4 separate regions of the Homo sapiens genome follow, and regions 1, 2 and 4 are each linked to region 3. The links are contacts of gene promoters, found by promoter capture Hi-C in blood cells and fetal thymus (Javierre and others, 2016). All regions are on one chromosome and are shown on one strand. Each heading gives the region's core, a stretch centred on a gene start or on the middle of the fragment in contact. The rest is flanking DNA. Distances are from core to core; before and after follow the strand shown.

What was found. The method cuts DNA at HindIII sites, captures the fragments that hold promoters and counts their contacts. A CHiCAGO score of 5 or more calls a contact.
Region 1: a contact is called between a fragment that was not itself captured here and the fragment with the promoter of ALOX15B in region 3, in 7 of 17 cell types (megakaryocytes, M0 macrophages, M1 macrophages and 4 more). The highest score is 8.0, in megakaryocytes.
Region 2: a fragment that was not itself captured here is called in contact with the fragment with the promoter of ALOX15B in region 3 in 7 of 17 cell types (endothelial precursors, M2 macrophages, naive B cells and 4 more); the score reaches 8.8 in endothelial precursors.
Region 4: a contact is called between a fragment that was not itself captured here and the fragment with the promoter of ALOX15B in region 3, in 1 of 17 cell types (M0 macrophages). The highest score is 5.1, in M0 macrophages.

The regions. Positions count from the first base shown.
Region 1 is chr17:7,900,326-7,903,025 of GRCh38, forward strand. CHD3 (chromodomain helicase DNA binding protein 3) reads left to right here. Exons shown (of 40, transcript NM_001005273.3): 17 at 1-86; 18 at 233-406; 19 at 527-668; 20 at 919-1,050; 21 at 2,285-2,402; 22 at 2,612-2,700. Among named protein-coding and RNA genes, the nearest start is that of CHD3, 13 kb to the left of the region's middle. RefSeq lists an enhancer at 2,366-2,700. The HindIII fragment of the contact is 4,232 bases long and covers 1-2,700 here.
Region 2 is chr17:7,863,584-7,866,283 of GRCh38, forward strand. It overlaps a transcript of NAA38 not described here. Among named protein-coding and RNA genes, the nearest start is that of CYB5D1, 6.9 kb to the left of the region's middle. The HindIII fragment of the contact is 3,079 bases long and covers 1-2,700 here.
Region 3 is chr17:8,037,648-8,040,347 of GRCh38, forward strand. It overlaps ALOX15B (arachidonate 15-lipoxygenase type B), which reads left to right and starts at 1,412. Exons shown (of 14, transcript NM_001141.3): 1 at 1,412-1,655; 2 at 1,739-1,958; 3 at 2,255-2,336. The coding sequence starts at 1,509. The HindIII fragment of the contact is 10,323 bases long and covers 208-2,700 here.
Region 4 is chr17:7,836,416-7,839,115 of GRCh38, forward strand. The region is part of intron 1 of KDM6B (lysine demethylase 6B); the gene reads left to right. It overlaps LOC124904106 (translation initiation factor IF-2), which reads right to left. Exons shown (of 4, transcript XM_047437265.1): 4 at 1-229. Among named protein-coding and RNA genes, the nearest start is that of KDM6B, 3.5 kb to the left of the region's middle. RefSeq lists an enhancer at 304-353 and a silencer at 1,224-1,373. The HindIII fragment of the contact is 2,138 bases long and covers 382-2,519 here.

The sequences.
Region 1 (2,700 bases), core at 69-2,568, 140 kb before region 3:
AAGTTGCTGCTGACAGGAACCCCATTGCAGAATAATCTGGAGGAGCTCTTCCATCTCCTGAACTTCCTCACCCCAGAGAGATTTAAGTAAGTGGTTCCCTAAGGGTAGTTGGCAGAGATGAGAGGTGGAGCAGATAAAATGAGCTGGTAGAGGATTAATCTGAGGTGGTAAGTCTGAGATCAGGGGCAAGGAACTTGCCGACCTGTTAATTTTCTTCTCTTCTGGCTCTTAGCAACTTGGAGGGCTTCCTGGAGGAGTTTGCTGACATATCCAAAGAGGACCAGATCAAGAAACTGCATGATTTGCTGGGGCCACACATGCTGCGGAGACTCAAGGCAGATGTCTTTAAGAACATGCCAGCCAAGACAGAGCTCATCGTTCGGGTGGAGCTAAGCCCCATGCAGAAGTAAGATGCAAGACGAGCTGCCTGGAGTAGGGCTTGGGGATTGATGGGAGCGTTCCAAGTGCAATATCATAATTGCTTCCTTTATTTATGTTTCTTTTACACCCCTTTCCTGGCCTTTAGGAAATACTACAAATACATCCTGACTCGAAATTTTGAGGCCTTGAATTCACGAGGTGGTGGGAACCAGGTGTCGCTGCTTAATATCATGATGGATCTTAAGAAGTGCTGCAACCATCCATACCTTTTTCCCGTGGCTGCTATGGTAGATACACAGAGCAGGGAGCTGATCGAACGCCCATTCTCAGAAAACATGGGTGGGGAGTAGTGGGGAGGTGGGTATTGAGCCACAGGGGTGGAGCTGGGCTGGAAGGCCACGGACTGGGTGTCTGAGAACAGGAGGAATTGGGAACATGTGGAAGCTGGATCCGGGCATCTGGCCTTCTAGGTGTGGCAAGAATATGGGGGCATGTTTCCAACTGACCCCCTCCTCCTCCTCTCTCCTCCCTTTTCAGGAGTCCCCCAAACTCCCCAGTGGGGCTTATGAGGGTGGGGCACTTATTAAGTCGTCTGGGAAGCTCATGCTGCTCCAGAAGATGCTGCGAAAGCTGAAGGAGCAAGGACACCGAGTGCTCATCTTCTCGCAGGTGACCTGTGCCCTTAGCTGTCTTTACATCTGCTTCCTCTTCCCTCTCCTCATCCTCCAGACTTTAATTTCTTACGGTCTTCCTGTGGCTGCTCTGGTGTGACAAATGAGGAGATTCCTCCTGTAAGAGTTTTTTTTTTTTTTTTTTTTTTTGAGACAGAGTTTCGCTCTTATTGCCCAGGCTGGAGTGCAGTGGCACGATCTCGGCTCACTGCAACCTCTGCTTCCTGGGTTCAAGTGATTCTCCTGCCTCAGCCTCCCAAGTAGCTGGGATTACAGGCGTGCACCACCATGCCTAGCTAATTTTTGTATTTTTAGTAGAGACGGGATTTCACCATGTTGGTCAGGATGGTCTCCATCACCTGACCTCAGGTGATCTGCCCGCCTCGGTCTCCCAAAGTGCTGGGATTACTGTATAGCAAGTTCATTCTTGGCCTCTGATGCCTGTTCTTAAGGTTGCTGGAAGTTGAGGTCCAGCTCTAGTTCCTTTTCAGCTGCATGAGGGAAGGGGGAGGGTGAGCCATCTGCCTCCTTAGGGACTGGTATTATTTCTTCATCTTATTGGCAGGTGAGGGTGAAGGGCACAGACCCTTTGGAAATGTGATGAAAGCTCTGGGTCTACTCACCAGAAAACTGCACATACAATGACACAATTTTGTACGGATTTTCAGGGGGTTCCTGGATTTCCCTGAAACCTTTTCATGGGTCTCAGAGAACCTCTGCCTTAGGAGAAACAATCTTAAATCAAGAGAGTGTGACAAGAGGGCCAGACGTGGTGGCTCACACCTGTAATCCCAGCACTTTGGGAGGCCGAGGCAGGAAGATCACTTGAGGTCAGGAGTTTCAAGACCAGCCTGGCCAACATGGTGAAACCCTGTCTCTACTTAAAATACAAAAATTAGCTGGGCGTGGTGGCGCACACCTGTAGTCCCAGCTACTAGGGAGGCTGAGGCGGTAGGATCACTTGAACCCAGGAGTGGAGGTTGCAGTGAGCAGAGATGGCACCACTGCACTCCAGCTAGGGCAACAGAATGAGACTCCATCTCAAAAAAAAATAAAAATAAATAAAAATAAGAAAAGAGAGTGTGACAAGAAGGTGGAATAATGAGGAGCTTAAGACAGGGCAGGGGTTCAGGTGTAAAGATTAGGGTTGAGTTTGTGTAAAGGAGTAGTTAGAATAAGCAAGCATCCCACCACCTCATTATTGCAGACTCCATCCTTTTCTCTTGCTCTAGATGACCAAAATGTTAGACTTGCTTGAGGACTTCTTAGACTATGAAGGCTACAAGTATGAGCGCATCGATGGTGGTATCACGGGTGCCCTGAGGCAGGAGGCCATCGATCGGTTTAATGGTGAGGGAGATACACTGGTCCCTGGTGGGTGTGGGAGGCCTGAGAAACCTGTGATAGGTCCCTGGGATGGGAGGGGGACTGGCTTGGGGGACATTGGAAACTTAGGCTTTGAGTTGGGGGCATGGTTGTTTGTCATCAGAGAACATCTAGGAGCAGGTGGACAGAACTACCGGGTACAAGAAAAACCTGATCCAACTCTCACCTCCTAGCTCCTGGGGCCCAACAATTCTGCTTCCTCCTGTCCACCCGAGCTGGGGGCCTGGGCATCAATCTGGCCACTGCTGACACTGTCATCATC
Region 2 (2,700 bases), core at 201-2,700, 170 kb before region 3:
AGTTTCTACCCTTACAGCAAGTCACAGGTGGATTACTAACCTGGCCATCCTGAAACTGTTTCTAAATACTCTGTGTGTGTGTGTCTGTGGATGTGTATTATTTTTGGAAAATGGTGCTATAATTTCCATCAGATTCTCCAAATAGCCCAACCCCCTACTCCTACTCCTGAAATAGCACGCACACACACACATACACAACAATACTTTAAACAGCCTCAAAAGTAAAATATCAAAAGTTATAATACAATGTGGTCCCAATATTCTGGCATCTGTCTCAATGGTCTGCCTCAGCCTGTGGCAGAACCATGGCAACCCATGGCAGAAATTCCTAAAGCTCTAACCTTTGGGGCTAAATTTATGACGAGTCTCAAGTGTTTTACTACTGTACCAAATGTTAATCTGGCTGTACCTTGGAGCTGAGTAAAGGGATCCATCATTTGGTCTTGATACTATAACATCCAATCATACATCACGATAAGGTTAATGCATCCAGCACCACAGCTAAGTTTAGGGAGGCCACATGGATGGGCTGCTGTTGGGAGAACAGCCACTTGATCATGGGTCAGTAGAGTACACGGTTTGGCTGTAAGAATGCACACAGAATTAGAAACCTGACTGATCTTTATCCTGGAAGCCAAAGATTAAGGATTCAAAAATACAAATGGATATGCACCCCAAGTACTAGGTATTCTAGGCACACCGGAAGCACTAAAAAGAAAAACCCAAAAAGCTGGTGAATGAATAAGTGAAGTGAATCCATCAAAGTGGGAATGGGAGTAAAGGCTTAAGTGCAGTGGTGTGATCATAGCTCACTGTAACCTCAAACTCCCGAGCTCAGACAATGCTCCTGCCTCAGAGTAGCACCACCATACCTGGCTAATTCTTTATTTTTTTGTAGAGACAGGGTCTTCCTATGTTGCCCAAGCCGGTCTCAAACTCCTCGCCTCAAGCAATCCTCCTGCCTAGGCCTCCCAAAGTGTTGGGATTATAAGTATGAGTCACCGTGCCTGGCCAATATTTTAAATAATTGTGTGCCTGGACTGGGTGTGGCAGCTCACGCCTGTAATCCCAGCACTTTGGGAGGCAGAAGGATCACTTGAGGCCAGGAGTTCAAGATAAGCCTGGCCAACACAGTGAAACCCTGTCTTTACTAAAAATACAAAAATTAGCCAGGTGTGGTGGCAAGTGCCTATAATCTCAGCTACTCGGGAGGCTGAGGCAAAATGGCTTCAAACCAGGAGGCGGAGGCTGCAGTGAGCCAAGATCACGCCACTGCACTCCAGCCTGGGCAACAGAGTGAGACTCCATCTCAAAAAAAAAAAAAAAAATTATGTGCATGAAGCAAAGTTTGTGTTAGGTACTTGTGTGTAGAATTTTCTACTTGTGGTATCATGTAGGCATGTAAAAGTTTCCGATTTAGGAGCATTTTGGGTGTTTGATTAGGGATGCTCAACCTGTACATACACATACCTATATATAAACATATTATGAATAGAGTGAAAGTACTATAAAGACACACAGAATCACGAGAGCGATGGCTGAATGATCAGAGGCATGTCTGAGGAGATGCTCACATGACTCATCTGTATTACCTGTAGAGCTGCATTTACCAACATTAATCCTCCCAACAAACTTAAGGCATAGGTACGATTTTTATTTATACTGAAAAACAACACTGAAGCAGAGAGAGATTAAGTAACTTGCCAAAAGTCATACAACTAATGAGTACCAAGGTAGTCATAGCCCATCCAACTAACATACCGCCTCCCTGCATGTCAAACATAGGATGCTATTCTAGTTACCTACCACTGCTGTATTTTGCCAATGAATCTGCAATATGGGTAGGGCTCAGCAGGGACAGCTCACTTCTACTCCCAAAGGGGTGGACTGTGGGGAGCTGGAGGATCCACTTTCAAGATGGCTGTCTCACATAGCTCTCAATGCTATCAGTTTTTCTCCACATGGGCCTCTACACAGGGCAGTTTGGGCTTCCTCACAGCATCCCAAGAGAACCAAGAGGAAGCTGAATCATATGACCTAGCCTCAATTCCAAGGGAAGGGAACTAGCTCCCACCTCTCACCGGGAAGAGTCTCGGAATTACACTGTAAGAAGAACATGTGGGATGTGAGACATAATTGTGGGCATATTTAGAAAATACAATCCACCAGAGATGCACTGGAGGTAAAAGGGGGGTATCCAGCCCAGTCTAGGGTGGAGTGGAGGGGTGGTCTTTGAAGGGTTGTGTGTAGGGGAGACAGGGCATTGATACTTGAGCCTTTCTTGAAAGCCTAGGTTGGAATCTTGGCCCTATCATTTATTCAATTCATTAAAATGATACTGAGCATCTGTCAGGCACAGTCCTGGAAACTGTGAATACAAAAATTAATGACACAGTTCCTGCCCTCTAGGAGCTTACAGTTTAATGGGAGACTCACGGAAGTTTGTGATTCTCTTAATTTGTCATCCTGCTTCCTTATTTACACAGTAGCCATGGGGAACTTTTTTTTTTTTTTTTTTTTTGAGACGGAGTCTCGCTCTGTTGCCCAGGCTGGAGTGCAGCGGCACGATCTCGGCTCACTGCAAGCTCCGCCTCCCGGGTTCACGCCATTCTCCTGCCTCAGCCTCCCGAGTAGCTGGGACTACAGATGCCCGCCACCAAGCCCGGCTAATTTTTTTTTTTTTTTTTTTTTTTTTTTGGT
Region 3 (2,700 bases), core at 162-2,661:
GCACACCTGCAGTCCTGAGCTCTATGCCCAGACGTGGGTTCTCCACTTGGATGTCTAATGGCCATCTCAAACTTAGCATCTCCAGACCGAAAACCCCAAATCTGTTATGTTATTCCCCCAAAGCCCAAATCCATAACTTCCCCTTGGCATCTCTCCCCCAAATCCCTCCCTCACTGCACTCTTGCCTTTCCCTCCTCCAACAAGCCAAGCTTTTCCTAACCACAGGGCCTCTTCAGGAACAGTTTCCTCTGCACAAAACTCTGTTCCCCAGACAGATCCTTTCACCTCCTCTGAGGCTCTGAACGCCTCCCTTCCCACCTCTGCTTCTCACTCCTTCACATTAGTCTGTTTCATTTCCTTCATTGCACTTATTATCATCTGAAATTATGTGTTGGTTTACTTATTTTCTCTCACACTTGATTTTTTTTTTTTAGACCGAGATTTGCTCTGTCGCCCATGCTGGAGTGCAATGGCACAACTTCACCTCACTGAAACCTCCGCCTTCCGGGTTCAAGCTATTCTCCTGCCTCAGCCTCCTGAGTAGCTGGGACTACAGGCGCCCGCCACCACGCTTGGCTAATTTTTTTGTATTTTTAGTAGAGATGGGGTTTCACCATGTTGGCCAGCAACTGTGCCTGGCCTCACACTTGATTTTTAATCTCCATGAGAGCAAGCACTAGGTCTTGCCTGGGCCTTTATCAATAGCAGTGAGCATAGCACCTGGCACAGAGGTAGTTCTGAACATTAATTATTGAATGAAATAAAATAATGAATGTAGGCTGGGCGCGGTGGCTCACGCCTGTAATCCCAGCACTTTGGGAGGCCGAGGCAGGCGGATCATGAGGTCAAGAGATCAAGATCATCCTGGCCTACATGGTGGAACCCCGTCTCTACTAAAATACAAAAATTAGCTGGGCATGGTGGCACTCGCCTGTTGTCTCAGCTACTGGGGAGGCTGAGGTAGGAGAATCACTTGAACCCAGGAGGAGGAGGTTCCAGTGAGCCGAGATCATGCTGCTGCACTCCAGCCTGGCGACAGAGCAAGCCTCTGTCTCAAAAATAAATAAATAAATAAATTTTAAAAATAATGAACGCAGGCCCAAGAAGAGTTGTGGGAAATGGGGTGATATTTTTGCATAGACTTCTAAGGCTAAGAAGGAAAACAAACAGACGTGGTGGGCACAAATCTACCCCCACCCCAACTGGGTCCCAACTCTAGGCTCTCTGGCCTGGCACCACCACTGAAAGGCCCCGTTCCCCAAACCTCAGGGTATTCTTAGTCCCTCCTGTTCCCAGCGCTGCCAATCCCCCGCCCACCCCCACTTTAGTTGCGTGTTCCAGCCTCTCCGCCCCGCCCCTCCCCGCCCTGAAACGGACGTGCTTTTTAGAGGAGTCCACTGGGCTTGGAGTCAGTGGCAATAACCAGGGGCAATAACCAGGCGTGTCCCAGGGGGGAGCCCCGCTCTGCAGCCCTGTGCGCCGTAGAGAGCTGGACTTAGGCTGGCAGCATGGCCGAGTTCAGGGTCAGGGTGTCCACCGGAGAAGCCTTCGGGGCTGGCACATGGGACAAAGTGTCTGTCAGCATCGTGGGGACCCGGGGAGAGAGCCCCCCACTGCCCCTGGACAATCTCGGCAAGGAGTTCACTGCGGGCGCTGTGAGTGCGTGGGAGTGGATGGGGTGGAGGTGAAGGGGGCGAGCAGGAGGGTCCGGCCTGACGCATACTTAACCTCCCCTCAGGAGGAGGACTTCCAGGTGACGCTCCCGGAGGACGTAGGCCGAGTGCTGCTGCTGCGCGTGCACAAGGCGCCCCCAGTGCTGCCCCTGCTGGGGCCCCTGGCCCCGGATGCCTGGTTCTGCCGCTGGTTCCAGCTGACACCGCCGCGGGGCGGCCACCTCCTCTTCCCCTGCTACCAGTGGCTGGAGGGGGCGGGGACCCTGGTGCTGCAGGAGGGTACAGGTGAGGGGCGGGCCGGGCTGGGGCTGCAGGGGGAGCACAGGAAGGGGTAGGGGACTGGGGGTTGGGGAGAAGGGCAGGTGAAATGGAGAGGTGAGCTGGTGTGGCCACAGAGTAGCGGGCAGAGGAGAGGGAATGGCGGAGCCTTGGGGAGCGGGAGGTAGCAGCCTGGTGTAGGAGAAACTGTACTTATGGGAGGAGGGGACCTGGTAGAGGGTGGCAATCGTGGAGACTGTGTGGCTGGTGGTAGTGATGGTGAGTTTCTCTCCCCACCCCAACCTACTCCCCTTCTCCCACAGCCAAGGTGTCCTGGGCAGACCACCACCCTGTGCTCCAGCAACAGCGCCAGGAGGAGCTTCAGGCCCGGCAGGAGATGTACCAGTGAGGAGGGGGTTACTGATGGGGGAGGGTGTGCCCAAACGATGAGGGGCAGCTTGAGTGTCCTGGTCATGACAGAGATTAAAAGCCCCTGCCTCCACCTCTCCTATCAAAGCTGCTCCTGGGATCAGCAGCGTCTACAGGAACGTATTAGAAATGCAAATTCTCAGGCCACCTCCAACCTACTACGACACTGAGGGTGTAGAGTGGGAATTTTTGTTTTGACAAGCCTTCCAGATGACTCTGGTGGCCACTGATGTTTGAAAAACACTGCTCTAGGGCCAGGTGCCGTGGTGGCTCACACCTGTAATCTCAGCACTTTGGGAGGCTGAGGGAGGCGGATCACTGGAGGTCGGGAGTTCGAGAC
Region 4 (2,700 bases), core at 201-2,700, 200 kb before region 3:
AACAGCGCGGGGAGGGGCGGGAGAGTTGGGGACCCAGACAGATTCCGGCTGGCGGCCGGCTGGGGCACGGGGGATCCTGCAGATGGAAGACGGAGCCCCGCGGGACCCGGTGCCCCCGTCCCCGCCTGCCGGCCCCCACCGAGATCTCGCCCAGGAGAGAGAAGGCACAGTATCTCCGAGGGGCGTGTCGGGCCGACTCCCGTCAGAAATGTGGGTTGGGAGGTCAGGGCTGCAGGCGGAGAGGAGGAGACAGGCAAGAGGCCTGAGTCCCTGGGATTGGAGTCGTATTAGGGGTAAAAGAGATAAGGACGCCTGGGTTTCTTCTTATGTCTCCTTTTTGGGTTCCCAGAATTCCTAAGGGTGTTTCCAGTGTTTCCAGGAAGCTTAGCCAGCACACCCACTCCGCCCCGTAGGGGTCAAAGGTCTGTGTTAGAGGTGGCCTGGGATGATGTCACTAGTGCACGTGCCCCGGGATGGTTGCCAGGCAATGAGGCTTCCTCCCCCTTCTATTCCCTCCCACCTCTGCCCCGAGTCCAGTTCCAGTCCCGTGCCATCTCTTTCCCCTCTCCCTTCCCGTGGTCTTAGCATCCTGCAGGTGGGAAACCCCGGCCTGGAGTTTTGTGAGGGGGAGGGGCACGGGTGTGGTGTGGCTGAAAGACTTTGCCCCTTTGCTGGGCTGAGGGAGCCTTGGGTCACTTTTCCCTAGATTGGCACAGAAGAGCTTCCCCTCCAAGGCTCCGCCCCCATAGAAAAAGCTACCTAGCCGTCATTTTACTTTCCCACCTGCTGCATGGCCAAGTGTCCTATTGCCCCCTTCCCCAGATTGATTTGAAGTGGGAGTGGTTGAAAGACGGAAGAGTTGTGTGTAGTATGGGGGGGGGTTCACTACACACCAGCTTATCCCTGAAATCCCCATAATGGCACACCCCCATCTGCAAACAATGAAAGGAAAAGGGTCAAGAAACAGTATTAGGCTGAAAAGTCAGGGTCTTTATTGTGTGTATGCGGGTGAATCGGTTTGTAGCCTCTCACTTGGTGGAGGGGGACTCAGTTGATTGCTATGGTTGTTCTTCTCTATTAAGTCCCAGGGTTGGTGATGGTATTGGAATGAATCGGTTTGTGCTTTTATGTACCTTAGAGCTTGGGCTGTCAGATCAGACCTGGATTCTAATTCTAGCTCTGTCACTTAGTGGCTACTAGGACTTGGAGAGGTCAGAACCTCTCTGAGCCTCGTATGTTAATCTTGAACATTTAAATATCAACACCTACCTTGAAGGCCGCTGGGAGGAAAAAAATGAGATAATTTATGCAAATCACTTAGCACAGTGCCTGGCACAGAATGAACACAGAATGAGTGCTTGTTGTTATGAAATACTTTTATTATTAAATGGTGTTAGTTACTAGTTTATTATTATTGCTGTGGGTCTGCTCCAAACCAGCGGTAACCGTAGGAGTTTGTTAAGGGGTAGTGGATAGTTTGTGTTAATTTGGAGATTGGGGTTAGGGGGCTGGGGATTAGCTTCAACTGCTTTGTGCATTTTATTTGATGAAGGCTTTAGGCAGATTTGTATTGCTTTCTTTAGGATTATTTTTTTTTCTCTTGGACAAGAAATAGCTAAGACTATTCCGTGGGCCTTGAAAATAAAATAATTGTATTATGGTTCTTGATTTTGAAGCAAGACCCCAGCCCCCTCCCGTGTTGATCTCTGGAGCCTTTCGTTTTGCAGAGGGACTCCACAGTTTCTCTAGTGGGGACAGGGCTAGGCTGAGGGGTGTGTAAAAGGTTGGGGTGGGTGGGTGGAGAGAGACTAGTGCTGGGGGCTGGGGGGGCGGGTAGTTAAAGGAAGAGACCGGAAGGGAGGAGGAGGGAGCCTGCTGGTGGGGAGGGAGGGAGGGGAGGAGGAGGTGGAGGAGGAGGAGGAGGAGGAGGGAGGGGGTTGGGGAGAGCCTGCTACAGTTCTTTGTTTGACTCCGGGACTCAGGGACGGGGAGGAGGAGGGAGGGAATAGAAGGGGGAGGAAGCCCCCCCCCCCACACACACACAAACACACACACCCCAGCTGTTGGACAGATGAATTACAGCCTCCGGCTTGGGGCCAGGGCTGGTGAGGGATTAAAGCTCTGGGGCTGGCCCTTTAAATGGCTGTTAGCCCCTCCCCCACTCTGTTGTCCAGACACCCCTCACACACCCTCTGACCCCCTAGGCTTCCCCCTCACTCCTCCTCTTGGTCTGTCCTAAAGTCTGCCCACTCTGCTCTCGACTAGCCCTTTCCTAGTCCCTCCCCCCAGCACAACCGCAGAACACAGATGCCACAGACTATAGATACACACTCTCTGCTCCCAGGTTATGAGCCTCCCTGTCCTGGAGAGTTCTAGCCTGAAGCTCCCTTCCCGAGCAGAAGGGCCTTGCCTGCCTGACCTCTACCACCTACAGCTGACCACTACCCTGGCTTAGGAAGGAGGCCTTGGTGGGTCACAAATAGCACCTCCCTGGGGGCAGTGTCATCAGCAGCCACAGAAGCTTGCGGAACATTGCATCATGGAGACTGGGGGCTAGAGGCCTGAGTCTCTGAGGCAAGGGGAAGGATGGGGGCCGGAAGGCTAGGGAATATAGAGATTAGATTGGGACCCCAAGTGTTTGGGTCCATAAGGGCAGAGAACTATGATTAAGGGAGCAGAAAACATAGGTCCCTGAGGAGC